Linked DNA regions of Homo sapiens: regions 2, 3 and 4 are each linked to region 1. Evidence: promoter capture Hi-C in 16 types of primary human blood cells and fetal thymus (Javierre and others, 2016). All regions are on one chromosome and are shown on one strand. Each heading gives the region's core, a stretch centred on a gene start or on the middle of the fragment in contact. The rest is flanking DNA. Distances are from core to core; before and after follow the strand shown. Region 1 holds the start of RWDD3 (RWD domain containing 3). Region 2 has its middle 12 kb from the start of PTBP2. Region 3 overlaps CCDC18-AS1 (CCDC18 antisense RNA 1). Region 4 overlaps DNTTIP2 (deoxynucleotidyltransferase terminal interacting protein 2).

Region 1 (2,700 bases), core at 137-2,636:
GGAATGGTAATGGTGAATGGATGCAGGGTTTTAAAATCAGCCAACTTTGTTCTGACTTCCGTAGGTCAGTGACTGGAGTCACTGCCTAACAACCTAAATTCCCAGATTTATCTCATGAAATGTGATTTCTCATACAAACAAAAGTTGTGAGAACTCCATGAGCAAGACCAGCTGCTTGTGGGGACTGCCAAATTTTAAACTGTTATTTGAACAGCAAAAAGACCAGGCAAACATCCGAGAGACAGACCTAACTGCAGATAAGTCTTGTAATCTTGTTCACTATAGTCAAAACAGAATGGATTGCTTATTCTGTTACCCTATTGGTATTGCTCACATTTTAAAATTTAGGTGCTGGGCTCAAGAATGATAATTTTATTATTAAGCTTCAAGAGTCACATTGTATTGTATGCATTGAATATCACGAAATCGAAAACACTGAAAAGCTAGCGTTTACATTCTTGGATCATACCCCCAAAGGCCAAGGATTCCCACTGGCCGCTTGCAGCAGGGCTGTCTCCTGTGAAGGCAAGAGACAAACGAGGAGCGTTATGACACTTTGCTCCCAGGACTTTGGCGCACAGTTCCCATGAGTCCAGGTCCGTCCAGTCAACATCCTGAAGCCAGGACTGGCAGGTCCTGACCCTCCCTTTTTGCACCCGTAAGGGGAAGGGCCCGGGAATCTGGACCTTGTCTAGAGTCCCGGCGCCAGTACCAGTTCGGAGGGCATCCTGGAGGTTGTTACTAACCCGAGCCTCTTCCAGGCTTCCCAGGCACCAGGGTTGCTAACAGCTCCACGGGGGCGAATAATTTTGTTTATTTTGTTAACTGTGGTTATCTCCAACACTCAGTTCAGACCTGAGCCGGGCAAAGTCTCACCTTGTCTCCTGGTCACTTCCCTGCTTGTTTGTTTCTTCCTAACTCCCAAGTGTCTTTCGCCCAGTTCATCCCCACCTCAGCAGCCCAAGGCTCGGCGGGGACGGTCGGGGTTCGAAGCCTGCAGCTAAACTTAGAGGGTTCAGGCTTTGCTGGGAGGCCTCCCTGTGCTCAGAAGAGCCGGGGGTAAGCTGGGCGGTCGCCTTGGGTGCAGACAGAGGCGCAGGGCCTCGGCCTCCAAGAAAATTCCCAAACCGAGAGGCTGAGCTTCGCGTCTGTAGTTACTGAGCAGGAGCTTCTGGGCGGAACTTCTAAGGGCCCCGCCCGCCCCGTCTGCCCTGACCCTCGCCCGGACTCGCCTCGCCCACGTCCCGTTTCGCTTCGCCCCAGCTCCGTCTCGCCCCGCCCCCGTCCCGCCCGGTTGCGGAGGCGCGGGGCGCCCCCGGGTGGCCGCGGGCAGTGCTGCTCCTGGCCGGTGGAGGCGGCGGCTGCGGCAGCGGAAGGGGAAGCGCTGAGGCGGTGGGGCCCACAGCCATGGCGGAGCCTGTGCAGGAGGAGCTCTCGGTCCTGGCCGCGATTTTCTGCAGGCCCCACGAGTGGGAGGTGCTGAGCCGCTCAGGTGACTACCCGCGCGCGGGAGGGACAGGGCGCCCTCAGGGGCCACCCGCGTTCGCTTTGCGTCTCCTCCCCACCACGGAGCCTGGGCACCCCGCCTGGGCCCACGTATGGGGACCGGGTTAGTTGAATGATGGAATGACACGCCCGGAGGCCGGAGTGGTGTCGCAGCGGGCGGGAGTGTGAGGCGACCCCAGAAACACTAAGAGAGCGGCGCGGCCCACTGGGGCCTCTGCCGCCGGTCCCGCTCCCGGAGCCGGGGGCCCCTGCGTGCGCACCCCCAGGCCCTCCCCCAGCCTCCCACCCCTCAGATCTCACCCTATAAAGAAGCCTGTGCTGACGCCCCCTCGTTGTTCTGTGTCCTTCCTAAGCACTATGCCCTAGGCCCCCCCGAGAGCACTCCCCGGTTCTAACTCTACACGGGTATTTGTAGGTCTTAAGTTGCAGGAGGGCAGGGTCTGTTTGGTAATGACTCCAGGCACCTGGTAGGTAGTAGGTAAATGTTTGTTGACTGAACTTTTTCATTTATCCAGTGCTCAACCTCAACTTTATCTGCATTCTATTTCCAAGTTGATTGCTTTTCTGATACTTTTTTTTTTTTAGGTGGAGTCTCTCTTGTTGCCCTGGCTGGAGTGCAGTGGATCCATCTGGACTCACTGCAGCCTCCGCCTCCCGAGTAGCTGGGATCACAGGCGCGTGCCACCATGCCTGGCTGAATTTTATTTATTTTATTTTATTTATTTTTTATTTTTTAAGACGGAGTCTTGCTTTGTCGCCTAGGCTGGAGTGCAGTGGCGCGATCTCGGGTCACTGCAACCTCCGCCTCCCGGGTTCACGCCATTCTCCTGCCTCAGCCTCCCGAGTAGCTGGGACTACAGGCGCCCACCACCACGCCCGGCTAATTTTTTGTATTTTTTTTTTTAGTAGAGACAGGGTTTCACCGTGTTAGCCAGGATGGTCTCGATCTCCGGACCTCGTGGTCCGCCCGCCTCGGCCTCCGAAAGTGCTGGGATTACAGGCGTGAGCCACTGCGCCCGGCCTTTTTTTTTTTTTTTTTTTTTTTTTGAGACAGAGTCTTGTTCTGTCCCCCAGGCTGGAGTGCAGTGGCGCGATCTCGGCTCACTGCAAGCTCCACCTCCTGGGTTCACACCATTCTCCTGCCTCAGCCTCCCGAGTAGCTGGCACTACAGGCGCCTGCCACCATGACTGGCT
Region 2 (2,700 bases), core at 111-2,610, 1.5 Mb after region 1:
AGCATCCTGAATAGCTGGGATTACAGGCGCATGCCACCATGCCCAGCTAATTTTTGTATTTTTAGTAGAGACGGGGTTTCACCATGTTGATCAGGCTGGTCTCGAACTCCTGACCTCGTGATCCACCCACCTTGGCCTCCCAAAGTGCTGGGATTACAGGCATGAGCCACCGTACCCGGCCACCACTGGATAATTTAACAAAGCCCACTTATTAATTCATTCCATAATTATTTATTGGCTATTTACTTTGTGCCAGAAATTGTTCTAGATATGGGAAGAGCAGCAAAAAACAGAATATGCAGTCACTGCTCTTATGTAGTTTGCGTTTTAAGAGATGGGAGGTGAGACAAATAATAATCAACTAAACATAGACAATGTAATGTTAGGCTGATTATCCCTAAGAAGAAAACTAAAATACAGAAGGGGATAGAGAGTGATGGGATAGTTATGATTTTAAATATAACCATCAGGAAAGGCCTCTCTGAGGGGGTCACTTCTGAGCAATACTTAAATGAAATAAGAGAGAAAACTGCAAAGATGTGGGAGATGGGCATTCAAGGCAAAAAGTAGAGCCGGAGGCTGATCTGCTTGACAGCATGTTCTAGATATAACAAGGTGGCCTGTATGAGCAGTGTGCTAGAGCCAGCTAGTACTGGCCCGTGAGGACTAATTATGTGCATCTCTTCCCAACTCTGTGTTTATCATATTTGTAGCTTGAAATTGGCCATAGTGGGAGTACTTACATTAAGCAAATCAGCAGACACAATGAAGCAGTGCTTCTCTGCCAAAGAGCCGTTTCTTAAACTTTTGCCGGCACACCAGTGTTTTTGTTCCAGTGCACTGAAGAAGGGGAGATTAGTAAAGGCAAAATCATCTTGTCAGGATTTAGATCTGACTTCTATGAGCCCAATTCACATGGTGGAGTCCTGGTCAAATGATTGTGCTTGTTTCCTTATAAATCCTTATAAACTCCCATACCCCAAAACTTGAAGTAAACTTGATAGTTACTGCTTTTCTTATTTGCAAACAATGTCAAAGAAAAAAGCCTTTCTTCCCTATCCCTGAACTTATGTGCCATTTCTACTTTTCAAAAATGTTTAGCCTCCTCCTTTGATCTGTAACTTTGGTTTTATCGTGTTCACAATACCACCATCTAAACCTGAAAGAACATAAAACAGCCTAGAGAAAGGCTAGGAATCAAAAATACTAATACTTCTCAAAGTGAGTAGGACATAATAATGGTTTCGTAATACCCAAATAGAAAGATATAGTACTTTCGTGCAGCCCTAAAATACTCAGCATCGTAGAACTGCTATCGTAATTTTTTTAGAACTTCTTGTCAGCTATGAGTGTGATGGTAGTGATGGTAAAGCAAGTAATGCATTGCAAAAAATGTCATATGACATTGTTTTCTTTTTTTTTTTTTGAGATGGAGTTTCGCTCTTGTTGCCCATGCTGGAGTGCAATAGTGCCATCTCAGCTCACCGCAACCTCCGCCCTGCCCCAGGTTCAAGCAATTCTCCTGCCTCAGCCTCCCAAGTAGCTGGAACTACAGGTACACACCACCACGCCTGGCTAATTATGTATTTTTAGTAGAGACGGGGTTTCTCCATGTTGGTCAGTCTGGTCTCAAACTCCCGACCTCAGGTGATCTGCCTGCCTTGGCCTCCCAAAGTGCTAGGATTACAGGTGTGAGCCACTGCACCTGGCTTCATTGTTTTCAATTAATTCACAGTGTATGCAATTACAATTAATGTGTAGAGAGAATCTTATTTTTACTTTTTTATATAAGTGATAGATTTCATTGATTAACTCAGATACTTAAATACAGATAAAAAGAGGTTAAAAGCAAAATAAAAGTTTTATTGGTTATGAATCTGGTTGCAAGTCATAGAAATAACTTGACTGGCTTAAAGAAAAGAGAGAGACACACACGGACAGAGACAGAGACAAAGAGAGAGAGAGACTCAAGGGAAAGATTAGCTTTGGATCTTAGGAAATACTGGAACTAGGAACTGGAAAGCCATTGTAGATATAGTCTCTGTCACTTAGTTTTGTTCTCTCTACATCAGCTTCATTCTTTTTTCCCTTCTTTAGATCAGTTATCTCTCCTCTTAGCCCACATTGTAGAAACTGGCTATCCACTATTTCTGAGTTGACGTTACATTTCTAATGAAAAAAGAGGGCCAACAGAGTCTTTTCTCTTATTTCTTAACTTCCGTGTGGAAGAATCTGACTGGCACACTTTGATAAGCGGCCCATTCCTGATCTAATCAGCTATGGCCTAAAAGACTGGGCTCACACAGAACAAATATGGCTGTTGAAAGCCCATCTGTTTGAAGAGGGTCAAGGAATTAGGAAAGAGATTCATACAGAAAAAGGATTTTTTTATGGACTAAGCCGATACCTCGTAAGTGGCCACATCGAAATTTTTTTTTTTTTTTTTTTGAGATGGATTCTCACTCCTCTGTCATCCAGGCTGGAGTGCAGTGGCACTATCTTGGCTCACTGCAACCTCTGCCTCCCGGGTTCAAGTGATTCTCCTGCCTCAGCCTCCCGAGTAGCTGGGACTACAGGCGCCCGCCACCAGGCCCGGCTAATTTTTGTATCTTTAGTTGAGATGGGATTTTGCCATGTTGGCCAGGCTGGTCTCTAACTCATGAGCTTATGATCCGCCCGCCGCGGCCTCCCAAAGTGCTG
Region 3 (2,700 bases), core at 162-2,661, 1.9 Mb before region 1:
AACACTATCTTTGATCCCCTTCCAACAATGCCTCTCTGTGGCATCTCACACTCTTGTAACTCTCTCCCCACGACTTCCTTTACATAATGCTTCTTGGTTTCTATCAAATCTTTCCTCAAATATTTTCTTCTTTTTGCTTTCTGTCTTTGAACATTTTTCAAAAAATTCTACCATCCTTAAAGGTCTTTATCCAGTTTCAAAGTTAACAAATATTTATTGAGTGCCAAGGACTGTCCTGGCTCTGGGGATGCAGAAATAAACCAGACCCTCACTGGCTCTGGGTACTTACAGTCTAGCTTAAACAAACCCTGCTATAGAGGGACTTGTTACATAGCCCTACTATATGATCCCACATCTCCGCTGTCCAACTCTCACTGGATACATCCATTTGGATAGCTATTTCTTTCTCTCCATCCAAATCTACCTCTTCTTACCATCATTGTCCCCACCTCCATTATTATTTAGGCACGGTCCTCGTATCTCACGGTAGATGCAGGCAGAAGCTAAATCCTGTAAATTCTGTTTCCAAATGCCTCTAATTTGTTTCTTTTATCTTATTATCACCAAACTTTCTTTGTTCAGGTCTACATCATTACTATTTTTACAATAGCTTAATAATTAATGTTCTTGTCTCTGTCCATTCCAGACCATCTCACATGCGAACTCAAACTAATCTTTTTAAACATTATTGTTTATGTCATCCCCCTTCTCAAAAATGTTCACTAACTCTTTCCACTGCTTACAAAAGGATCTCCAGACTTCTTAAAATGATGTGGAAAGACTTGAGACTTTGTAGTCAGAAAGCTTGGGTTGCATTTCCAATCTGCCACTTATTCACTCTGTGACCTTGAATAATCTCACTGGGCTTCAATTTTCCCATCCATCAATTGGGATTAATGACTAGTTATAAAGACCAAATACATGTGAAAGTGCTTTATATTTTTAAAGTCCTATAATGAATATAACCTTTTTTCCTTTTTTTTTTTAATTTAGAGATAGTTACCAAATTACAAATAGCTTCAGCTTTGGAGTTAAGTAACAACCTGGTTTGAAATTTCAGCTCCATTACTTATTATCTGTGAGACTTTGAACAAATTAGTAAAACTCTCTGAGACTGTTTTCCCCCCATGTCAAAACACCTATTTTGCATGGCTATATGGAAATTAAATGAAATAGCAAATATGAAAAACTTTTGGCCCAGTGTATAATTCATATCAGGCACTGATCTGTTTTCTTTTTGCCCTAACCTACTTTTCCTGCATCATATACCACTACACCTCTTTACAAACCTTATTAATAGAGCCACTCTAGACTACTTTATTTCCCCAAGCCATACAATGTACTTTTGTGTTTTTTCTTCAGCTACATGCTCTTTCCTTCCCTATCAAAATTGTACTCAATCTTCAAGGTGCAGTTAAAATATCCAGTCCTCCATAAAACCCTTTGTACTCCACAACTAGTGTGTTAATCACTTCTTCCCATGCATTCTTAGCCTGTATATTTTATCACAATATTTATTTGAATCTGGTTTATATTCTGCTTCTCCCACCAGATTATAGGGTCTTCAAGAACAAGGTGGGAGTTATATTCATCTTTATTTCTCCCACATCATAGTCAGGACACTAGACAGTTATTGAATGAATGTAGAAATCAGATGCTGTCTTCTCTTTCCACTTTCTATAGGACACCACTTCTACAAATGCCTGCCCAAACATGTGCAAAAGCAAGCACATCTTCTCTAAACAGCTCCCTTTCAACTCCACTGTTTTTGACAGTGACACTCCCCTAACCCTACTCTGAGGCTAAACTTTTTTTTTCCTTTTCTTGAGGCAGGGTCTCACTCTGTCACCTAGGCTGGAGTGTAGTAGTGTCATGGCTCACTGCAGCCTCAGCCTCCTGGGCTCAAGTGATCCTGCCACCTCAGCCTCCCAAGTAGGTAGGATCACAGGTGTGCACTACCACACCTAGACAACATGAAAAAAAAAAGTTTCATATATATGCATTCTCTCTGAAACTCTTAAAGCTTAATAAGGAGATGTTCTCTTTGTCCTTAAAAGCCTATTTATAATACAGATACATGTAGTGTACTATAAATAACTATTTAAATATGGGCTACAGATTAGCATATTTTATGACATATCACACTGGTATTTATATCCAATTAAATTTCTCTCAGCCACGTATGTAATAAACTAGTTACATGGTTCATTACTAGTTGAAGACTGACCAAGCCTGATAAAGATGATAAAAGACACTAACATTATATAACACTTCATACTATAAAAAGTACTTTCACACAACTCTCATTTGATTTTGAATCCTGTGTGTTACATAATATTTCTATATCTGAACTGAAGAAAATGAGGCTTGGAGAGTGACTTGTCTAAGTAAAAAAAAAAGCTGGGACTGGAACCTACAACTCTTACTACACATTCAATTCTGTTTATGCTACCACAGAAGCCTGTAGCAATAAACTATTACTGAAATAATGTGTGCTCTACTCGTCTATTTAGCATAAGTCTATAAACATAAATGTTACATGAAAAAGCAAAGTTATAGTTTTTTCAGGAGAGACAAGATAAGGGTCAGTGACACTGTGACAACTTGGGACATTTTTTGCCAGCCAGCTTTTTCAGACGGATAAACTTGTTAAGGTCAAGATAAATTTAGGCACCATAATAAATCTTTAAATCAACAGTA
Region 4 (2,700 bases), core at 108-2,607, 1.4 Mb before region 1:
AAGAAATTAGTTGGGCATGGTGGCACACACCTGTAGTCCCAGCTACTCAGGACGCTAAGGCAGAAGGATCACTTGAGGCCAGGAGCTTGAGGCTGCAGCAAGCTATGACTGTGCCACTCACTCCAGCCTGGGTGACAGAGTGAGACCCTGTCTCCCCCCAAACCCAGCTCCCTCCCAAAAAAAAAAAGAAAAAAGAAAAAAAAGGCCAGGCACGATGGCTCATGCCTATAATCCCAACTCTTTAGGAGGCCAAGGCAGGACAATCACTTGAGGCCAGGAGTTCAAGACTAGCCTGGGTAACATAAGAAAACGCCATTTCTCCAAAATAAATAAATAAATTTGTGCAGTCAAATCTGTTTATCTTTTCCTAAATGATTTCTGTACTTTTGTTACTTGACTAGGATGATTATATTCTCCTAAAACTCTGTGTGACTAAAGGAACCTCAGGTTAATTAGTATTTTTCTCAGTACAAGAACCAAGTAAGACTGCTCTGTAGCCCTCAAAATAGTTTACAGGAATATAGTACAAGCATTAATTTGGGACTGACATTTGAAATGATCAACTCAGAAATTAACAGTCAGGCACACAATTCAGGTTCAGGCCTAGATGTTTCTGTGTGGTATAGGTAGCCGTCTAGGCTTTCCTATCACTCATAAAAGGGGGCATGATATTTACTTAACAAATGATTAAGAGTTTGCTGTGAGTCAAGTACTGTAGTACATTCAAGGACAGTGGTTCTCAACTGGGAGCATCTGGCAATGTCTGGAGACATTTTTGGTGGTGGTGAGGATAAGGAAGAATGCTACTGACATCTAGTGGGCAAAAGATAGGGATGCTGTTAAACATCCTACTATGCACGGAACATCTCACAACAAAATTATGCAGCCCAAAACATCAGTAGTGCTGAGACTGAAAAACCCTGTTTTAGGAATATAAAGAAAAGATGGTAAGTTAATATATCACATGATCAACAATGAATCAGATCTATGCTAGATGTTATGGAAACAGAGGGGTTGTGAGAAGGACTGGAGGTAAAATATTCCCCAAGGGCAACGATCAATTATTTTGCACTTGCTTGGGGAAAAGCAGGGTAAGTTCAGGCAACTACAGTAGTCTTCAGTGGCAAGAATAGAGCAGATGACAGCTGGGTGGGGTAGAGAGGTACTTTGAAGGATTCAAGAGAATACTGTCACATCTGTGTGTGTGGTGTGTTTTTTGGGGCAGGGAGGAGAGATGTGGTCTAGCTATGTTGCCCAGGTTGGTCTCAAACTCCTGGGCTTAAACAATTCTCCTGCCTCAGCCTCCCAAAGTGCTGGGATTATAGATGTGAGCTACCTTGCCCAGCCGGATTTGTGTTTTTAGACAGAGAAATCTAGAAGTGTGGAGGATGGCTTGAAGAACAAGATGAAAACAAGATCAATAAGGAAGCCACTGGAGTAGTCCAGATGAGAAGCAAAGGCCTGCACTAGCTGGTGACAGTCGCTTGAAAAGGAGGAAGCAGAGAAATATCTTCCCCTAGAGGCTTGGTGACTGACTACAAAAGGAAAAGAGAGTTTGGTTTCATTAGCCAGAAAAAAGAATACAAGAAGAGGATTCCTGGTTCAGGCAGGGAAAGGGGAATTAGTGACGTCAAGTACCTGAGGACATCTAAATGAACAAATAGGTACTTGGATTTAAAGGTCTGAAAGTGACAGTGAGAAGCATCAAGGCTAGAAAATATAGATTTAGGAGAAAACAGTGCAAGGTGTTGGCTAAAGCTAAGGGTTTGGGTAAAGTTACCTTAACAGTAATTCCTTCTGAAATTATATGTAAAATGTCTATATGCACATGTGCATTTTTTTCCGGGTGGAAGAGGCAGGCAGGCATTCACAGCTTTCAGATTCTCAACAGTCTACACTAGTTAAGAACTTAAGAACTAAAAGTATAGCAAGAAAAGGGAAAAAAACAAAACCCCTGGGATCATAATTGGTGGGTGTAAGATGAGGAACACTGACCCTGTATTGATTTATTTTTAAAGCATTATCATTCATAGATAGGATTTTATTGTAAAAAGAAATGACTGTTTTAGAGAGAAGGAAAAAACTAACACATTAGGCCAATGTGGTTTCACTGTAGGAAAATTAAGTCTTTTACCAAGGACTAATTTCTAAAAGTGATTGGTTAGTTCTGTGAAAACCTAACAGCACAATTAACTTACCTCATTTTTCTTTTTCTCCTTGATCTGTGTTAGGGTTCTCTTGTTAGACTGTAGTTTATCTGCATTAAAATTAATATACAAACCACCCAACTGCTTGATACTCAGACCAGGGTCTATGCTGCTGCTTGTCAACTTCAGACTGAAAAAGAAATCATCACTTAAAGATCAAGTAATTAAATCAAAATGGAAACATATAAGATGGCATTTTAAAAAATCACTTATTCTTCTCTTCCCTTGTATTGTCCACAATAAAGAAAAAAAAGCATCTTATTTTTATGAGGAATTCCTGAAAAAAAACTCTAAATAAATATATTTTTCATCATTTTATTTTATTTTTTGAGACAGGGTCTCACTGTTGGCCCAGGATGGAGTGCAGTAGTGACCACTGCAGCCTTGAACTCTTGGGACTCAAGTGATCCTCCTACCTCAACCTCCCTGGGTGGCTGGGACTACAGGTGCACACCCAACACCTGGCTCCATAATGTCAAATGAATGAGCCATT

What was found. Contacts are between HindIII fragments. The CHiCAGO score rates a contact against its expected background, and 5 or more counts as called.
Region 2: a contact is called between a fragment that was not itself captured here and the fragment with the promoter of RWDD3 in region 1, in 1 of 17 cell types (naive CD8 T cells). The highest score is 5.0, in naive CD8 T cells.
Region 3: a fragment that was not itself captured here is called in contact with the fragment with the promoter of RWDD3 in region 1 in 1 of 17 cell types (non-activated CD4 T cells); the score reaches 5.6 in non-activated CD4 T cells.
Region 4: a fragment that was not itself captured here is called in contact with the fragment with the promoter of RWDD3 in region 1 in 4 of 17 cell types (non-activated CD4 T cells, total CD4 T cells, naive CD8 T cells and 1 more); the score reaches 8.7 in non-activated CD4 T cells.

What each region holds. Positions count from the first base shown.
Region 1 is chr1:95,232,824-95,235,523 of GRCh38, forward strand. RWDD3 (RWD domain containing 3) reads left to right here and starts at 1,387. Exons shown (of 4, transcript NM_015485.5): 1 at 1,387-1,492. The coding sequence starts at 1,408. All of the region lies in intron 7 of TLCD4-RWDD3 (TLCD4-RWDD3 readthrough), which reads left to right. RWDD3-DT (RWDD3 divergent transcript) reads right to left here and starts at 1,159. Exons shown (of 4, transcript NR_125949.1): 1 at 877-1,159. RefSeq lists silencers at 1,128-1,457, 1,668-1,847. The HindIII fragment of the contact is 4,366 bases long and covers 382-2,700 here.
Region 2 is chr1:96,708,008-96,710,707 of GRCh38, forward strand. No RefSeq gene overlaps it. Among named protein-coding and RNA genes, the nearest start is that of PTBP2, 12 kb to the right of the region's middle. The HindIII fragment of the contact is 8,514 bases long and covers 1-2,700 here.
Region 3 is chr1:93,341,171-93,343,870 of GRCh38, forward strand. The region is part of intron 1 of CCDC18-AS1 (CCDC18 antisense RNA 1); the gene reads right to left. Among named protein-coding and RNA genes, the nearest start is that of CCDC18-AS1, 3.3 kb to the right of the region's middle. The HindIII fragment of the contact is 1,219 bases long and covers 803-2,021 here.
Region 4 is chr1:93,873,447-93,876,146 of GRCh38, forward strand. It overlaps DNTTIP2 (deoxynucleotidyltransferase terminal interacting protein 2), which reads right to left. Exons shown (of 7, transcript NM_014597.5): 3 at 2,199-2,337. Among named protein-coding and RNA genes, the nearest start is that of DNTTIP2, 4.4 kb to the right of the region's middle. The HindIII fragment of the contact is 7,821 bases long and covers 1-2,700 here.